5 separate regions of the Homo sapiens genome follow, and regions 2, 3, 4 and 5 are each linked to region 1. Evidence: promoter capture Hi-C in human tissues and cell types (Jung and others, 2019). All regions are on one chromosome and are shown on one strand. The core of a region is centred on a gene start or on the middle of the fragment in contact, and the rest is flanking DNA. Distances in the headings are between cores, read along the strand shown. Region 1 holds the start of TPRX1 (tetrapeptide repeat homeobox 1). Region 2 holds the start of LOC124904734 (a long non-coding RNA gene). Region 3 holds the start of MEIS3 (Meis homeobox 3). Region 4 holds the start of SLC8A2 (solute carrier family 8 member A2). Region 5 overlaps NAPA (NSF attachment protein alpha).

Region 1 (3,442 bases), core at 564-3,063:
TATTTTTAGTAGAGACGGATTTTCACCATGTCGACCAAGCTGGCCTCAAACTCCTGACCTCAAGTGATTCGTCCACCTCAGCCTCCCAAAGTGCTGGGATTACAGGCGTGAGCCACCGTGCCCAGCCACTTTTATTTATTTTGAGATGGAGTCTCACTCTGTTGCCCAGGCTGGAGTACAGTGGCACAATCTCCACTCCCTGTAGCCTCCGCCTCCCGGGTTCAACCAATTCCCCCGCCTCAGCCTCCCAAGTAGCTGAAATTCAGGTGCTGGCCACCACGCCCAGCTAATTTTTGTATTTTTAGTAGACAGGGTTTCGCCATGTTGGCCAGGCTGGTCTTAAACTCCTGACCTCAGGTGATCTGCCTGCCTCAGCCTCCCAAAGTGCTGGGATTACAGGCGTGAGCCACCGCGCCTGGCCATGCAGCATTTTATTTATCCATGCATCAGTGGATCGATGTTTTCAGCATTTTCTCCTTTTGGGCGATAGTGAATCATGCTGCCGTGAACTTGCTTATATTTAAATGTCTATTTTCACAAAATAGTACCAGTGAGCTTGTTCATCTGTTTATGTCTTTATTGACCAAATAAATAGCCATGGTGCAAAATCTCTGTGGTCACTACTGTGTTCCCAGCATGTCCTGTAGATGAAGCCGGACAATGTGTGCGATGAGGAATCATTGCTGGGGATGCTGCTTTCTACAGCAGAACTCTAAGTAGCAGGTGAAAACAATGAGCGAGGCCCGTGGTAACAATGTCTACGTTTTATTGAATTTTGAAATTGATTGCATGAGTCATTTCTAGTTCCCTGCACCATGAGCCTTGTCAATCTCTCTAATCCCTGAACCCACGTGGGTCCTGCCATGGGGAAATGAGGACAGCCAGGTGTCTGACAGAGAAGACGCATCTCTGAGGGATCCGATCTCTGTAGACCAAGGTCATGGGTCCCCTGTATCATCAGCAGTAGGTTCATTCACTCACAAGGGCAGACCAGCAGCGGTCCATGGGCACGTCCATCAGACCTGTGCCCCCTCCTGATACAGGTCTATGCAGCTTGGAGAGGCTGGGCTCATGTGAACCCAGCACACGAGCCCCGTATATAAACTGGAATAAACCAGCACTGAGGTCATTTACTCTCCAGGAGAAACCAACAGAGGTCTATGTGAATGCCTATCAGAACTTCACCCCATAGGCAAATCCACTACAGAAACCAAACCATTATCAGCAGGGCCAATGTGTACTAAGCTCTGCTTACACCTATAGGCACCTAGGGAGCAATTTTTGGAATGGATAGTAGGGGCCAGAGTGGCCTTGAGGTACCAAAGAGGAGGTTGCAAGGTCATCCAGGAAGGAGGGATAGTGGCTGGACAAGGCAGGCAGCCCAGGAGCCAGGAGGAGTGGGTAGACTCACCGGCATTGGTCACTCGGGGCCCCAGCCCTGGGAAGGAACAAGGATGACTCCTGGGGGCTGGCTGGCGGTGCCTCTCCTGAGATGGGGACCCCAACCACAGGTCACGATGTTGACTCCCCCAACCAAACCCGCATGGAATGCCACCTCACCTGGGCTAGGGCCCATGAGGGTGAAACCAAGGCTGTGTTGTCCACTGAGGTTCTCCAGCTCCTAGCACAGCTCAGCAGGCAGTACCTGATCAGTGATGAAGGATTAATCCATCATTCAACTCCTCCAGGGGGCGGGACTGCAGGGCAGGGTGGGAAAGGGAGGGTCCCGGCAGGGTGGGCCAGGGTGGGCACAGCAGAGAAGTGATTTAAGAGCCAAGCCCTTGTCAGTACACACTTGTGTTTGGGAACAGATCAGGACTCAGGATGCAAGACCCTGGTCATCTCCAAGGTGAGCGGGGACAGAGGTGTGAGGGGTCTGGGCTGATCCTGTGGCTGAGGCTGCAGAGTGCAAATCTGGGCAGCCAGAGAAGGGCTGGGCCTGTGCGGGCGGCTTCCTGTCCTGCAGACGGGGGAGAACTTAGTGGTGTCTGGGAAATGAAAAATCATGCAGCTGGGTGTAGCGTCTCACGCCTGTGATCCCAGCTCTTTGGGAAGCCAAGGTGGGAGGATCACTTGAGCCCGGGACTCTGAAACCAGCCGAGCCAACATAGTGGAGACCCGTCTTTAGCAAAAATACAAAAATTACCCAGGGGTCGTGGTGCACACCTGTGGTCCCAGCTACTCGGGAGACTAAGGCGGGGGGTTCCTTGAGCCCAGGAAGTGGAGGCTGACTTGAGCCGTGATCACATCACTGCACTCCAGCCTGGGTGACAGAGCGAGATCCCCTCCAAGAAAAAGAAAGAAGGAAAGAAATTAAACCATGCAGTTGAGTGGAGCAGAGGACTGGGCAGGTGGCGGCTCCCCTGCAAGTGTCAGGGTCCCTATAACCCTTGGATGGGAGGGGACGGGGCAGCTGGGGAGGGTTGAGCAGGCCTGAGGCAGCCCCGTCTGCTCCGAGGTGAGGCGCCTACGCTGCCTGCCTTCCCAGGAGCTGTTATCGCGCCTATTTCCTAGATGTGGACCCTGAGGCCCAGAGAGGTGCAAGGTCTGGTCTGGATACCAGGCTGCTATCCGCGGTGCCGCCCCAGCCCACACTGCCTGGGCTCCTGGCCTGGTGCAGGGGACGGGGTCCCTAGGGGGGCTGGGGGCTGCCTGGGGGTTTCTGTGACCTGTTTCCCTCCCACCCCCAGGCCCTCCCCTGGCCCTGGACCCTCCAAGGAGACAGCGGCAGGAGCGCACGGTCTACACTGAAAGCCAGCAGAAAGTGCTAGAATTTTACTTTCAGAAGGACCAGTACCCGAACTACGACCAGCGACTGAATCTGGCGGAGATGCTCAGCCTCAGGGAGCAACAGCTGCAGGTCTGACCCCCACCCCCACCCTGCCCGCCCCAGTCACCCCAAGGAGCCTCCCCACCGCTGTCACTCACCGGGGCCTGGCCCGCCCGACCACCTCCCGCCCTGCCACGCAAGGGGTCCCGCCAGTGTAGACCAGGGCTGCATCCTGAGTCCTGTTCCAACTCTATGCTAGCCCAAACTCGCCCACATGATCGGCCCAGGCTGTCCCCCACGGGGTCTCCCGGTGCCCGGACCTCAGGCACCCGTGAGAACCCGCGGTCCCTCCCCTCGAACCCTCCCTGGCCCCCCGGGCACCTGGGCGGCAGACCCCGCTCCTCCCATCCCACCCCACCCTCCTCCCCCTACTTTTCCCTCCCTCTTCCCTCCATTCTCCAGGCCTTGGAGCCGGGGCCCTCTTTTGGTGGGGTGGGGGATGGGGGGCTGTTGAGCACAGGGAGAGGCTTCAGGCTGGCCCCGACCCCAAAAGGCTCACTGGGCCGCGCGAGCCCCTCCTTCACACCTTCTCCCTGTCCCCTCTGCCCCCCAGGTGTGGTTCAAGAATCGCCGCGCCAAACTAGCTCGGGAGCGGCGGCTCCAGCAGCAGCC
Region 2 (3,442 bases), core at 356-2,855, 400 kb before region 1:
CGAAAGCACAGATTTATGGAAGTGAAAGTACACTCCAGAGTCGGAGTGGGCTTGAGCAAGTAGCTCAAGAGCCCCTGACTGCAGTGCTCTTTAGAGTTTTCATTAAGCTAAAAGAATTTGGTAACACCCCTAGGTGCCCTTTAGAGGCCTCCAGTTGGTTACACCCTATGAAGGATTGGCCCGTGACCAATCAAGAGGCTGAAGTGGAGACTTCTGTCTTGTTATCACAGGAGTGAGGATGTGGCCTGGATGCTGCCCAATCTTGCCTAGAACTGGCTGCACCTGCTTGTGCCTTAACCCTTGGTTACCCTAAATCCCTGTTATCCAGACTCATTGGGACTGCTCTAGATCTTCACTATCCAATACGGTAGGCGCTTCCTGAAATGTGCTGAGTTTTATTTCATTATAATTAATGTAATGCACCCACATGTGGCTAGCTGCTACTGTTCTATTGAAATGCAACTATACAACTTCCCATAATGTTTCAAAACACCAAACTCTTCTGTAACTCCCCCAGTCTCCCAAAACATCTTATAAAAATCCTAGAACAACTGGCTGGGGGCGATGGCTCACGGCTGTAATCCCAGCACTCTGGGAGGCTGAGGCGGGTGGATCACTTGAGGTTAGGAGTTCGAGACCAGCCTGGCCAACGTGGTGAAACCTCGTCTCTACTGAAAATACAAAAATTAGCCAGGCATGGTGGCGCACACCCGTAATCCCAGCTACTTGGGAGGCTGAGGCAGGAGAATTGCTTGAACTCAGAAGGTGGAGGTTGCAGTGAGCCAAAATTGCACCACTGCACTCCAGCCTGGGTGACAGAGTGAGACTCTGTCTCAAAAAATAAAAATAAAAATCCTATAACAACTGCACAATGCTCAAACGGCCCAATTCCCTACCTTTCCTTTTATACCTTACTACTACTCTCTTGTTGCTCCCATCATGCCTCACTCCCTACTCACATTTCCCAGACGGAGGTTACATGTGATATGGCAGCTGAGAGCCCAGACTCTGGGGCCCGATTGTGTGGGTCCAAATTCTGGTTCTAACACCTCTGGCCAAGTTATTTAACCTCTCTGTGGTGCAGTTTCCTCATCTGTAAAATGGGGGTGTGACAGTAACGCTACCTCATAGGAATGTTGGGATGCCTCAACAGCACTCATGTAAAGCAGAGATGGGTACAAGTAGCTTTATTATATATTATCTGTTTAACAATTGTATATGGGCCAGGCGCAGTGGCTCACGCCTATAATCCCAGCACTTTGGGAGACTGAGGTGGGTGAATCTCTTGAGGTCAGGAGTTCAAGACCAGCCTGGCCAACATGGTGAAACCCCTTCTCTACTAAAATTACAAAAATTAGCCGGGCGTGGTGGTGCGCACCTGTAATCCCAGCTACTCGGGAGGCTGAGGCAGGAGAATCGCTTGAACCCGGGAAGCAGAGGTTGAAATGAGCAGAGATCATGCCACTGCACTCCAGCCTGGGCGACAGCGTAAGACTCCATCTCAAAAACAAGCAAACAATTGTATATGGCCGAAACTTTCCATAATAAAACGTTTTTAAAAATAAGAGTACTTAGCATAGTCTCTGGCACACAGTCAGTGCTGATCTTGGCGTTAGCTTCAACACTCCGACTTTTCCTGACTATCCCCAGCTCCTCCTACAACCCAATTACTCTATAATACCTGTTTCCCCTATAATAACCCACTCTTCACAAACACTTAAATTAACCATAATGAGAGCTGCCAAATAAAATACAGGATGCCCAGCTAAATTTGAATTTCAGATAAACAACAGAGAGTAACTACAATATTATGCATTTTCCGAAATTAGAATTTAACTGGCCATTGCTTTCCCCCTAAATCTGGTAACTCTATCACTAAATGCCTTTGCATACTGAGGAATCCTCAGTGCTTCCTAGAGGCTGCTACTGAGTTGGCCTTCTATAAATAACAACAGAATTAACTTATATAATACCTCAATTCCCTTATAAAACTTCCAGCTTCTCTTTACAGCGCCAGTTCTTCCCAATCGCCTCCCAGTCCCTCCCATAGAGGACAACAGTCCCCTTTTCTTATACCTCCCCTTCTCCATGAAACCCCAATTCCGTCTATAGTCACATCTGTCCTGTTTACCAGTACTGTCAACTGTGCCTGGCTTCCAGCAGGAGCTCTATAATAACTGCAGAATGGCAAAAGAGCTTAATACCCCAATTTTCCCTACTGCTTTGGGAGGCTGAGGCGGGCGGATCCTACTGCGTTTCCACTTCCCCTTGAGCATCCCAAGTATCTAGTAACTTGTCGATTTCAATGATCTCCCCAAATCTCCTTATTACATAGGAATTCACCAAAACACTCCCTGTCCTTGAAAACATCCCATTTCCCCTAATATCACCCCAACTCCCCTTACTGCAGACTGATTCCTCCGGCACACCCTCCATCCCTCCAGTTCCCAGGCTGTTAGTCTAATTTCTCCCGCGAGGTCTCTAATCCCCGTCTCCTTCCACTCCAGGGTTACTGTGGCAACGCCAACCTTTGAATCCCCCTCCTGCGCGCTGAGCGGCTCGTAACCATGGAGACCGAAGCAGGTTTCCCGCGTCCGCCTCCTCACCCAGAGACTGCAGCCCCGGCGCCCAGACCCTTTGGACAAGGAGATCCAAGCGGGCCCCACAATGCTCAGCGGGTAAAGAGCTCCTCCCCACTCCTCTCCCGCCAGCAGACGAAGGAAACACCCCGCAGCCTGCACATGCTCAGATGGAGCTCTGGGCCCGCGGGTTCTACTGCGCAGGCCCTCACACTCAGCAAAGGGACTTGGACGCGAAAGCGCTGGTGGCGCTCAGCCGGCTGGGAGTTGTAGCTTTCTGGCTGCTACAGCAGGAGATACAGGTGGCCAATGGGTGAGCTGGCTGGAGGTAGGAACAAGGTTAAGGAAGCTGGGATCTTCGTGCAGACTGGATCGTCACTATAGCAACAATGAAACATCGGGAAGGGCTAGTTCTGCTAGGCAGTCTGCCATTTTCATTCTTTCATCTTTTTTTTTAACTCAAAGCTTACTTTGCAACAGGCACTGTTCTAGGCACTGGGGATACAATGGAAAACAAAATAGAGCTTCTATTTTGGCGGGAGATCGACTTAATAACTGTGAACACGTGTCACTGGAAAAAGCAGTATGTTAATAAGTAACTGGGCTGCTTTGGGAAAAATGGAAATGCAGGCGATGTTAGAACACTGGTACACACACTAATTCATTCATCCTCACAAAGCCCTATAGACAGGTACTATTATGACCCCTCAACTGTAACATAGGCTGGAAGGTCACATGACAAGGAAGTAGTGGAGCTGGGATTTGAACCCAGGCAGTCTGGCTTCATACTTGATAAGCTTAATCACAATGCCAAAGTGGTAAATAGCTGTGTGGCATAATTTCAGGTAGTGATAAGTGCTGTG
Region 3 (3,442 bases), core at 660-3,159, 390 kb after region 1:
CAGAGGGGATCCTGGGGACCACTGCGGATCCCCGGGGGACGTGGCTGCCTGGTGGGCATAGCCCCAGTGGTCGGTGCTCAGGTTGGGGCACTGAAGGGCCAGTCCGCTGAGAGATCGCCCAGCCCGTGCTGGGGAGACCCATGAGGTCCCCCAGATCTACTCATAGAGGGCTCCACGCTTCCCGTCTGTAAAACAGGTGCAGGACAGGGCTAGAGGGCGGAGACCCCTGCAGACTGGGAGCTGGGGTCACTCTGATGCCACCCAGGGAGCCACTCAGCCGGGCAGGGAAGACGCTTCCAGACACTGTCACAGGGAGGCCCAAGCACACCCTCGAAGAGCCGACAGGCAGCCGCGACGCAGTGACACAGGCACCCCCGCTCCAGCACCAGGCCTGGCCGCCACCTGCTCCCTCCCCCTGGGAACAGAAGGGTCCCAGGACTATTTAAGGGAGACAGCCAGGAAGAGAGAGAGAGAGAGAGAGAGAGAGAGAGAGAGTGTGTGTGTGTGTGTGTGTGTGTGTGTGTGAGAGAGAGAGAGAGAGAGCGAGAGACAGAGACGGACAGACAGACGGATGGACAGACAGAGGGAAAGACTGGAGGAAGAGCCTCAGAAAGCCGGAGCCTCCCCCCTGCTCCCTCCGTCCCCCGCCGGCATCCTCCATCCTCCCCCAATCAATTTCTCTCCCACACACTTATTTCTCCCTTCCCAACAGCTCGTCTCTTTCTTTAATTAGAAAGATTTATGCTTCAGAGTCCAAGCCCCCTGCTCTTGTTTTGGGGGTGGCAGGGACGACTCCAGGGTCTCTATTGGAGCTCCTGTCCCCCACTCCCTCCCCCTCCTGTCTGTCTCACTCTGTCTGCACCTCTCTCTCTCTCTCCTCCCACCCGCGTCTGTCTCTGTCTCTCTCTCTCTCTGAATCACACCGTCACTGGAGTTACCTCCCTCCCCACTCCAGTTAGGCCCCATCCCCATCCCAGGTGCCCCCTCCCTCCCTTCCTGCTCTGTCCACGCCCCCCACCACTGGCCGTCAGATGAGGCCGCACTTGCTCCTCTAGGTTTCAGAATCAGCCTGGGCTAAGGGGACCTTAGCATGCACCACCCCCCAAAAAAGCAAATAGAGCCAGAGACTCCTAACCCTTGCATCCCTCACCCCAAGTCTTGGCTGAGGGTGAGGTGGGGGTGGAGCAGACCAAAGGGCCTTGTGTCTTTAATTAAAAAGTGATTTAAATTAATTTTCTGCTCCAAAACCCCTATCTGGGGTGCGCCGGCCTTGAGGAAAGGCAAGGCCTCCAGACCCTTCCCCTCGGACTGCCTTAAACGGCCAGCCTCACCGCAGGACAGCCACGGGGGCAGAGCCCGCCGGCATGGGGACCCCCAGACTCAGCCAAGACCCTGAGTCCTGGCACCCTCTAGCTTAACTGTTTCTCCGTTATCCACAGCCCACCCCCGCCGCCCCCAGCGCACTGCCCATCCTGCAGAGGGGGAATCGAGCCTCAGAGAGGGGAGAGCCTACGGTGGGACCAGACTCCAGATTCCCACGTGACCCCTGGAGATGGCCAGGGAGGGGGTCCGTGGTGTGTCCAGGGGGCTCGGAGAACAGAGAGCCAGAGGAGAGAAAGGACGGGAGAAGCGGAGACAGAGAGAGACAAGGAGAGAGAGACTGGGAAAGAGGGAGACTGAGAAACCCGGAGCAGGAACCCCAGCCCTGGGTAGGAGAGGAGGGGCCTGGGGGCACCAGGGCCGCGGTCTCTTCCTCTCCTCCCCCCACAGCCTGCCCCTCCCCGACTCCCACCGGAAGTGCTGCTGCTGCCCTAACCCCAATCCCTCGTGCTGTAGCTCTGCAGGCTCACTCTGGCTCATCCCCTATCCCGCTCCTTGGTGGTTCTGTTTAATTTCCACAAGACAAGGGAGAGACCGGGAACGGGGAGCGCGGCTGCCAGCACCCCTGAGCCGCCGCCGGACCCTCCGTCGCCCCGGGCCGCCCCCCGCCCCCTGCGGTCCCCGGTGTGTCCGTCTCGGGACGGTTCGATTCCCTCCAGAGCCGGGGAAGGGACGGGGGGGGCCCAGAGGAGGGGGCCTCGGGCGCCCCGCCTGCGCCTGCTGCCCCCGCCCCGGCGGCGATGCGCTCCTGGCCGTGACCCCCGCTGGGGGCGGGGGCCGGGGTCCATGCGCGGAGTCCCCACCCGGCCCGGCGCCTGCCGCTGACGGCGGCGGGGGTGGGGGGGCGCGCGCCTGGCCTCCTGCCCACCCCCTGGCGTCAACACCGCGGGCCGTCAGGGGCTGCGGCCCCGGGCTGCGCCCTCCCCCGCGGCCAGGCTCTGGAGGGACCCAGGAGCTGCCGCCGGCCTCAGCCCATGGCCCGGAGGGTAGGTCTCGGGGCGGGGACCCCGCGTCCCGGCCGCTTCCGCACCCCCTGTCCCTGCATCCCCCACTCTCCGGCGCTGGCCCCCATTAGCCCATCCGTCCTCTACACCACCTCGCTCTCTCTCTGCCCCTCCCTCCGCCCCTGGGTCTCCCAGTCCCTGTGTGCCCCCTCTCTGCCCCCAAGTGTCTCTTCCTGGCCCTCGGCCTCGCCTCCTCCCCATCGTTTAGCTTCTCCTTCTCCCTGCCCCTCTGTCCCCCTCTGTCTGCCCCACTCTCCTCCTCCTTTCTGCCTCTCTGTCCCCCTCTCTCTGTCCCTGGTCTCCCCCCTCTTTCTGCCTCTCTATCCCCCTCTCTCTGCCCTCCCCCACCCGCAGTCTCTCTCCTCTGTTCCTGGGCTTCCTCCTCCATCTCAGCCGCCCGCACCTCACCGTCCCCCCTTTTTTCTGCTCTCCTCCGTCCTTCCCTTCGCTCTACTTTTGTTCCAAGCCGCCCCTGCCTCTCCAGGGCTAGGAGTGGGACAGGGGTGGGAGAGGTGGTCTCACCAGGCTGCTGGCCCCACGGAGCCTGTCTCCCTGGGGATGGGAACGGGGATAGAAGACAGGGGAGGAGGCGCGCGCCCGTTTTGGGGGTTCCGGGTAGGCTGTGAGGACCGCTTTTGGTGAGAGTGCCTTGAGCAGCGGGGAGCAGTTGGATTCAACTTCAGGGCACAGGAGAAGTTAGGAGAAGAGGGAGAGGGAAAGAGTGGGACACACAGAACCAGGGTGCCCAGCCAGGCGAGGGTCCGAGGCAGGAACGTTCTAGCCTCTTCCCGTGCGAGTCCTGCTGCCTCTTTGAGCCTCCGTGTCTTCATCACTGAGGAAGGGATTTGACCTGATGAGAGGAAGGTGCCCCTGGCTTCCCAGGTGCATGGTTCTGTGACGACAGGACGCGGTCGTCCTACCCCATAATGGTGTTTCTCTTGGGTGCGCAATCGTGTCTGTATGGTGGTGCGGAGTGACCCTCTCCGGCAACAAGTGCTCACAGCATGAGCCAGGCCCTGTGCTAAATGCCTCATTCATTCATTCATCCATGTGCCAAA
Region 4 (3,442 bases), core at 610-3,109, 330 kb after region 1:
CTCTTTCCCAGAAGCCAGGCCCAGGCGTGGGAAGTTGGAGGAAGCCGGATCCTCTCCCTCCCCTGGCCAGCAGGCCTGACGGTGTCCAGCCAGGACTGGCAGTGGGCAGGACCGGTGGCACGAGCAAGGCCCCCTCCCTCCCACTGTCCGCCTCTAGAGAAGGAGCACTCCACACCGACTAACACGCCATCACCCCCTGTTGTGGGGGGGAGCAGGATTGGGGGTGGGTGTAGTGCTGGTGTGCCTTGCAGAGGTGTGTGCTTGCGTGGGGGTATGTGTGTGGGCCCATCGCAGGGTGCATGAGTTTGTGTCTTCAGGAGCCCAGGCCACCTGCCTGGCCCTTTGCAGTTCATTTCTTTCTTTTTTTTTTTTTTTTTTGGAGATGGAGTCTCACTCTGTCACCCAGGCTAGAGTGCGGTGGCATGATCTCAGCTCACTGCAGCCTCCACCTCCCAGGTTCAAGCGATTTCTCCTGCCTCAGCCTCCCAAGTAGCTGGGATTACAGGCGTGTGCCACCTGGCCTGGCTAATTTTTGTATTTTTAGAAGAGACAGGGTTTCGCCATGTTGGCCAGGCTGGTCTCCAACTCCTGACGTCAAGTGATCTGCTCGCCTCAGCCTCCTAAAGTGCTGGGATTACAGGCGTGAGCCACCGCACCCAGCCTGCAAGTCTCTTCTTGACCTGACCCGTCCTCAGCCTGGGGAATTGTGCGGTGCAGCAGTTAAGGGTGTAGAATCTGGAGCCATATTTACCACCTCATGCCTTGGTTTCCCTGTCTGTAAGTGAAGCTCATAATAGCATTTACCTAAATTTATAAAAAACATTAGAACATGCCAGGTGCGGTGGCTCTCACCTGTGCGGTGGCTCTCACCTGTAATCTCAGCGCTTTGGGAGGCCGAGGCAGAAGGATTGCTTAAGCCCGGGAGTTGGAGACTAGCCTAGGTAAAATAGTGAGACCCCGTCTCTTAAAAAAAATGAAGAGAAAAAAAGCCTGGCGTGGTGGTGGTGGGCACCTGTAGTCCCAGCTACTCGGGAGGCCAAGGCAGAAGGATCGCTTGAGCCCAGGAGTTGGAGACCAGCCTGGGTAACATGGTGAGATCCCATCTCCTAAAAAAAAAAAATGGAGGGAAAAAGCCTGGCGTGGTGGTGGCGGGCACCTGTAGTCCCAGCTACTCAGGAGGCTGAGGCAGGAGGATTGCTTGAGCCCAGGAGGTTGAGGCTGCAGTAAGCCAAGATCGTGCCACTGCACTCCAGCCTGGGTGACAGAGTGAGACCCTGTCTCAAATAATAATAATGTGCTGCCGATGCCAGGCACGTGGTCAGGGCTGCCTGTATGTATGGCAGCTGTTGTTATTCTTATTAATGGGTGTCTTTGTGGTTGTTTCTGGCCTCCTTTGTGAGGCTGTGCAGGCACAGTATGTGAATTTGGATCTGACTCCAGCTAAACATTCTTGCCCTCCCCCTAGTTCTGTAAGTCTGTAACTATTTGTAGCTGTTGGCCCTTGTATGGCTGGGAGACTGCGTGCGTGTGTGTGTGTGCGTGTGTGTGTGTGTGTGTTGGGGGGCGGGGGCTGCTTCTGAAACACACAGGAGCGCCCTCCGGTGCTGTCCCCTGCCTCTGGTGCTGAACCCGGAGGCTGGGGAGGAGGCTCGGGCTCCCTGCTCCCCCAGGCCCCTCCCCGGGCCTCCCCCCGCCTCCCGCACCGCCTTCCCTCTGCCCGCCTCCGCCTCCTCCCCCTCTCTCCGGCTCCTCCCCCTCCCTCGCTCCCTCGCCGCCTCCCCCTCCCCCGTGTCCCTCCCCTCTCCTCTTCTCCTCCCTCTATCCCCTCTCCCTCCCCTCCTCCCCGGCTCTCCCTCTCAGTCTCAGGCTTTTCTCTCTCTCAATCTCTCTCTCTCTTTCGGGCGGAGTCGCCCACCACTGCCAGCCCAGCGCTGGGGGGACCTGCTCCAGGCTGTAGCCGCAGGTAAGAGACCCCATTGGTGGGGAGGTGGGGGCGTGGGAAAAGGACGGGGTTACCCCAGGTGCGGAGTGGGGGCGGTTCGGGAAGCCTGGAGCTGGCTTCCCTGGGCTGGTTTATGGAGGTGGGGGGCTGCCTGGCCCAGCACGCGTACCTTCTGTGGGGTGGGAGTGCCACCAGCCGCCCCAACACCTTCAGTCCCTCCTGGTTCTCGGGCGGCTGGGGAGGGGGACCGCCTGGGTACTGGGGGGCGAGGACACCCCGCCCCCACCCCGTCTGGGGCACCCCCCCTCGCGCTCTCTACCTCTGCCCCCGCCTTCCTGTGTCTGGGTCTCATCTTTCTGTCTCTCCACATGTCTCAGGGGTCTCTGTCTAGCAGAGTCTGGCCGCCTCTGGGAGTCCCTGTCTCTCAGTCTCTCACTCCTGTCTCCCTCTCTCTGTGTCTCTGTGCCGGGGTCTGTTCGGAGTCTCTCTGGGGCTCTGTCTCTAAGTCCTGGGTTTCTCTCTCCTTTCCTCTTGCGCCATCTCTGTTTCTCTGTGTCTCTGTGTCTCTGCCTCTCTCCCTTGTCTCAGCTTTCCTGTGTCTCTCTCTGTCTCTGCTTTCTCTGTGTCTCTGTCTCTTCCCATGTCCGCATGTCTCTCTCTCTCTCTCTCTCTCTCCCTCCCTCCCCATCTCCCCCTCGTCTCCATCTCTGTCTCTGGATATCTCAGTCTCTGTTTCTCTCTCTCTTTCCTCTTCTCTGGCTCTCCCTGGGAGCCAGTGCACCCTCCTCCCACACACCTTTGTCTCCGCCCCTGGCAGGGGGGACCTGGAGGAATTAGACCCCCCCACCCGCAGAGTGGGCTCCCCCAGGCCTGGAGTCCTCTAAACTCCTCTCCCCACTTCAGCAGAGCTCCCCTGCTCTCTCCACTCCTCCCAGCCGGCACCCACCCCAGCTCTCCCCTGAGGACCGAGCCCACCTCCCCCTGCCTTGTTTCTGGCGTTCTGAGGCCGGTCCTTCTTGCAGTTTAACCGGTAGCCTCTGTAGTAGAGATGAGACCAGACCTCCCTTCAATCTAACCTCCCCAGTCTTCCTCGTGTAACTGGACCAGTCCTTCCTGCCGTCTCACTTCCATACCTCTTGCTGTTTGTCCAGCTCTTGATTCATTCATTCTTGTTGATAATTACTGAGCGCCTTTCCTGCTCTGGGCAAGCACTAGGTACTGAGTTAGACCGGGCCAGTCCTTCCTGCAGTCTCACTTCCATCCCTTTCCTGGTGTGCCAGCCTCACACTGTCTCAGTGGGGGGTGCTGAGAGGGCCCTGGCCAACACACTGTCTGCCTTCCTTGAGAGAAGGGGGCCCTGGAGAAGGTGGGCAAGAGAGTGAGTGATGGCGAAAAGGTACGAGGCTGTGCCTGTAGCCCTGGTGTGTGTGTGTGTGTGTGTGTGTGTGTGTGTGTGTGTGTATGATGTCTCCCTGGCTGCAGGTGAGGTCCCAGCCCTGT
Region 5 (3,442 bases), core at 283-2,782, 300 kb after region 1:
ACACCTGGCCCTCCTTCTGCAGGCTTCACCTTAAGAGAAAAATGCTGTTACTAGGTTTTTGTGTATTTGCCCAGAAATATCCTATGTTTATATAAACATGTATGTTTCTATTATTTTCACTCTCTTTCTCTTTTTTTTTTTTTTTTTTTTTTTGAGACAAGGTCTGGCTCTGTCGTCGTCCAGGCTGGAGTTCAATGGTGTGATCTTGGCTTACTGCAACCTCTGCCTCCCAGGCTCAAGTGATCCTCCCACATCAGCCTCTCTAGTAGCTAGGACTACAGGCGTGCACCATCACACCCTGCTAATTTTTTGTATTTTTTGTAGAGTTGGGGTTTTGCCGTGTGGCCCAGGCTGGTCTCGAACTCTTGAGCTCAAGCAATCCGCCAACCTTGGCCTCCCAAAGTGTTGGGATTACAGGAGCCATGAACCACCACACCCAGCCCACCCTCTTTTTTTTTTAAACACAAATGGGAACATCTTATATCTACACTTTAAAATAGTGCTTCCCATTTCTTTGTATGGCTGTGTGATATATATGCCCAGTCCTGAGCTGGTAATGACACACTCCAGGGCTGCAAGGTCTTTATTGAGCAACCACAGAGTGCAAGGCACAGGATTAAGGCTGCCTCTGCGAAAGCAACACGATGTCTTAAACTGGGCTAGTCCCCCAGAATGCTTTGCAGTCTCCCGGGGAAAGGGGATTTGTAGCGCGCCTGGGACCCAGTGGGCCCCTAGTATCCCAGGCAGGAAGTAGAAGAGGCTGTCAGACCCTGGGGTTGTGGTGGGGTCAGGAACTCTTCGCCCCACTACCCCAGCAAGCACCCAGTATCTACCCCAGTACTCCCGGAGGGAGCTGGTCTGCCCGAAGTGAGTGTGCCATTGTATGCAGGGGCGGGGGCCACAGACTCAAGAGGCCTGGGGGAAGCTGGCTTCACAGGTGAAGGGTGAGGGGTAGGGGCACGTCTGTGCCCGGCACTGGAGCAGAATGCTTGCTTTCTCCTGGATAGCCGACTAGATTGTCTCCTTTTTTTCTTTCCTTTTTCCCCAGAGGCTCATCCAAAATAGAGGAAGCATGCGAAATCTACGCCAGAGCAGCAAACATGTTCAAAATGGCCAAAAACTGGAGTGGTATGTCATCTCCGCTAGAGCTCCTCCAAGGTGCTCTCCTCCTCCCTCAGCTTCCACTCACACAGGCCTGCCCGAGAGGTTGGCCTTGAGGGCCCTTTCTCTTTGTATGCCCTCTCCGGCATCGGAAAGCCACTGGCCTGCTCTCTTGTTTTGTGCCTGCTGGGTTACTTTATACTCTGGGTCATGGGGCCTTGGTGAAAGGACAGAGAGGATGGGAATAAATAGATTATTAGACCTAGATAAACCCATGTGGATTGATGAGCTCTTAGAGTCCTCCTTAAATTCAGAACTTCAGGTTTCCTGGTAACTTCCTTAGTGCTTCCATCAGTGTCTAAATTCTAGGCTGGGGGAGGATGTTCAGGTGATTCCAATAACAACGTGAATCATGGCTGCTGTTTGTTGAGTCCTAAGTGCTCATCATTTAATTGCGTTAGCACAGCAGCCCTAAGGGTCAGTCTATAAATATCCCTATTTTACAGATTTGGAAACTGAGGCTTGGCTTAGTCTCTTGCCCAGGATGCCAGAACTAGTAAGTGACAGAACCAAGATTCAGAAACCAAGGCTCTGACTGCAGAGCCTGAGTGTTTAACCTGCCCCAGTGAGGCAGGATAGCTTCACAGAGGAGAGGGGTGGGGAGGAGCCCCTTGGGCTCAGGGAGGCTGGAGATCTGTTTGGAGCTCCCTGCAGGCCCAAGAAGTCCAACAAGCCAGTGTGTTGAGCCCTTTCGAGGCTCATTTCATCATACATCTTTCATGTCACCAAGATTGAATTAAGGAAATACGGCAAGAGACCCAGTGTTTGAATGCAGGGAGGAACTTCTGACTGTGGAGGAGAGGGAACCTGGTGGTGGGACCATGGAGGCAGGGTGCAGAGGTGCACAATAAAATTGATTATCATCGTTTTTGAGAATGTTGTTGGTTTCCCCAAAATTCAAAGAGTTATTCCTGAGTTTTCACAAAATACGTTGTGAATAAAGCCAAATGTTTTTTGTATTTTTATGCTCCCAAACTTAGAAAATTCCTCTAGAGAAAAAAAGCTTATTTTTTAATTACATAGGTGTTGCTTTTCCCCTAAAATTTGTTACCTCTGCCCCCAAACTCTTCAAAGAAAAGCCCTAGGCCATTTCCCCCCGGTAATATCCCCTTTTCTTGAAATTTTTTTTTTTTTTTTTTTTTTTTTTTTTTTGAGACAGTCTTGCTCTGTTGCCAGGCTGGAGTGCAGTGGCGCGATCTTGGCTCACTGCAACCTCCGCCTCCCTGGTTCAAGTGATTCTCCTGCCTCAGCCTCTTGACTAGCTGGGATTACAGGCACGTGCCACTACGCCCAGCTTATTTTTGTATTTTTAGTAGAGACAGAGTTTTACCATGTTGTCCAGGATGGTCTCCATCTCCTGATCTCGTGATCCGCCCACCTCGGCCTCCCAAAGTGCTGGGATTACAGGCATGAGCCACCGCGCCTGGCCGTAATTTTATACTCAAATTTGGAACTCTTGAAAATAATGAAATCATATAGTGAAAACCCGGAAGGCTTTGTCTTTTCTGCTGCTCAAAACTTAAGAGGATAGGGCCAGGCCTCCTGGTCCTCTTCCAGCTTAGAAACTCTGACTCAGATTCAGCTGGAGGAGAATGAAGGGGAGAAGCCTCAGAGCTGAGCTGGAGGTGGTCAGCTGCACGAGGAGGAGGAGAGATGCTGCTGCCTCCCAAACGTCAGTTAGGAGATGTGTGGGCAGAATGGCTTGGGACCCACAGAAGCTGACCGTGTGCAGATGAGCACAGGATGGATGAGGCTTCAGGCACGGTCTCTTCTGCCCTCCGCCCATGGGCACTGGTCTGCATGTATTCATTCTTGCTGTCCACATCCTGTTTCCCTCTCTGGACATGCAGCTCCTGGAGGGAGCCGGCTCTGTGTTGTCCGACCCCAACTCCATGAGCCTCACAATTCATGCAAGTGCCTTGTCCATGGGGATCTGCAGTGAAGGGAACAGAATGTGAACAGAGGCAGAGGAGTTGGGAGAATCAGGAAGAGCTTTGGGGAGCTGTGGAAAAAGAAACAGGACTTGGAAAGGGGAGTAGATGGGAAGATGTTATGTGGTTTAATCTCAGTTGCCCCTTGCTTCCCAAAATACCCCTCCGAAGCCACCCCATGATTTCAGCCTGTACTTTGCCTTCTAGTGGTGGTTCTGGGCCCTGTGCTTCGAGGCTCCCCTGGGGAGGACTGCCCAGGCCGGGAGGTGCAGGAGGCCACCTCACTCTGTTTTATATCCTTTCCAACTCAGCTCTATCTGCCTTCTCCTTGGATCTTTAGAAGTGGTGGC

The links. Contacts are between HindIII fragments. The study calls those that stand out against the background at their distance.
Region 2: a contact is called between a fragment that was not itself captured here and the fragment with the promoter of TPRX1 in region 1, in 1 of the 25 tissues and cell types used here (dorsolateral prefrontal cortex).
Region 3: the fragment with the promoter of MEIS3 here is called in contact with the fragment with the promoter of TPRX1 in region 1 in 2 of the 25 tissues and cell types used here (mesenchymal stem cells and spleen).
Region 4: a contact is called between the fragment with the promoter of SLC8A2 here and the fragment with the promoter of TPRX1 in region 1, in 4 of the 25 tissues and cell types used here (heart left ventricle, lymphoblastoid cells, small bowel and 1 more).
Region 5: a fragment that was not itself captured here is called in contact with the fragment with the promoter of TPRX1 in region 1 in 1 of the 25 tissues and cell types used here (hippocampus).

Annotation. Positions count from the first base shown.
Region 1 is chr19:47,802,922-47,806,363 of GRCh38, reverse strand. TPRX1 (tetrapeptide repeat homeobox 1) reads left to right here and starts at 1,813. Exons shown (of 3, transcript NM_001397346.1): 1 at 1,813-1,849; 2 at 2,691-2,860; 3 at 3,384-3,442. The coding sequence starts at 1,825. The HindIII fragment of the contact is 58,136 bases long and covers 1-3,442 here.
Region 2 is chr19:48,203,309-48,206,750 of GRCh38, reverse strand. LOC124904734 (a long non-coding RNA gene) reads right to left here and starts at 2,590. Exons shown (of 2, transcript XR_007067282.1): 1 at 2,529-2,590. It also overlaps a transcript of CARD8 not described here. RefSeq lists an enhancer at 2,492-2,661. The HindIII fragment of the contact is 4,690 bases long and covers 1-3,442 here.
Region 3 is chr19:47,417,994-47,421,435 of GRCh38, reverse strand. MEIS3 (Meis homeobox 3) reads left to right here and starts at 1,909. Exons shown (of 13, transcript NM_001301059.2): 1 at 1,909-2,366. The coding sequence starts at 2,355. RefSeq lists enhancers at 1,829-2,822, 2,823-3,442. The HindIII fragment of the contact is 42,961 bases long and covers 1-3,442 here.
Region 4 is chr19:47,470,310-47,473,751 of GRCh38, reverse strand. It overlaps SLC8A2 (solute carrier family 8 member A2), which reads left to right and starts at 1,859. Exons shown (of 10, transcript NM_015063.3): 1 at 1,859-1,963. The HindIII fragment of the contact is 16,110 bases long and covers 1-3,442 here.
Region 5 is chr19:47,501,109-47,504,550 of GRCh38, reverse strand. NAPA (NSF attachment protein alpha) reads left to right here. Exons shown (of 11, transcript NM_003827.4): 2 at 1,049-1,128. NAPA-AS1 (NAPA antisense RNA 1) reads right to left here. Exons shown (of 4, transcript NR_038452.1): 4 at 2,954-3,094. Among named protein-coding and RNA genes, the nearest start is that of NAPA, 12 kb to the left of the region's middle. RefSeq lists an enhancer at 3,321-3,442. The HindIII fragment of the contact is 4,210 bases long and covers 1-3,442 here.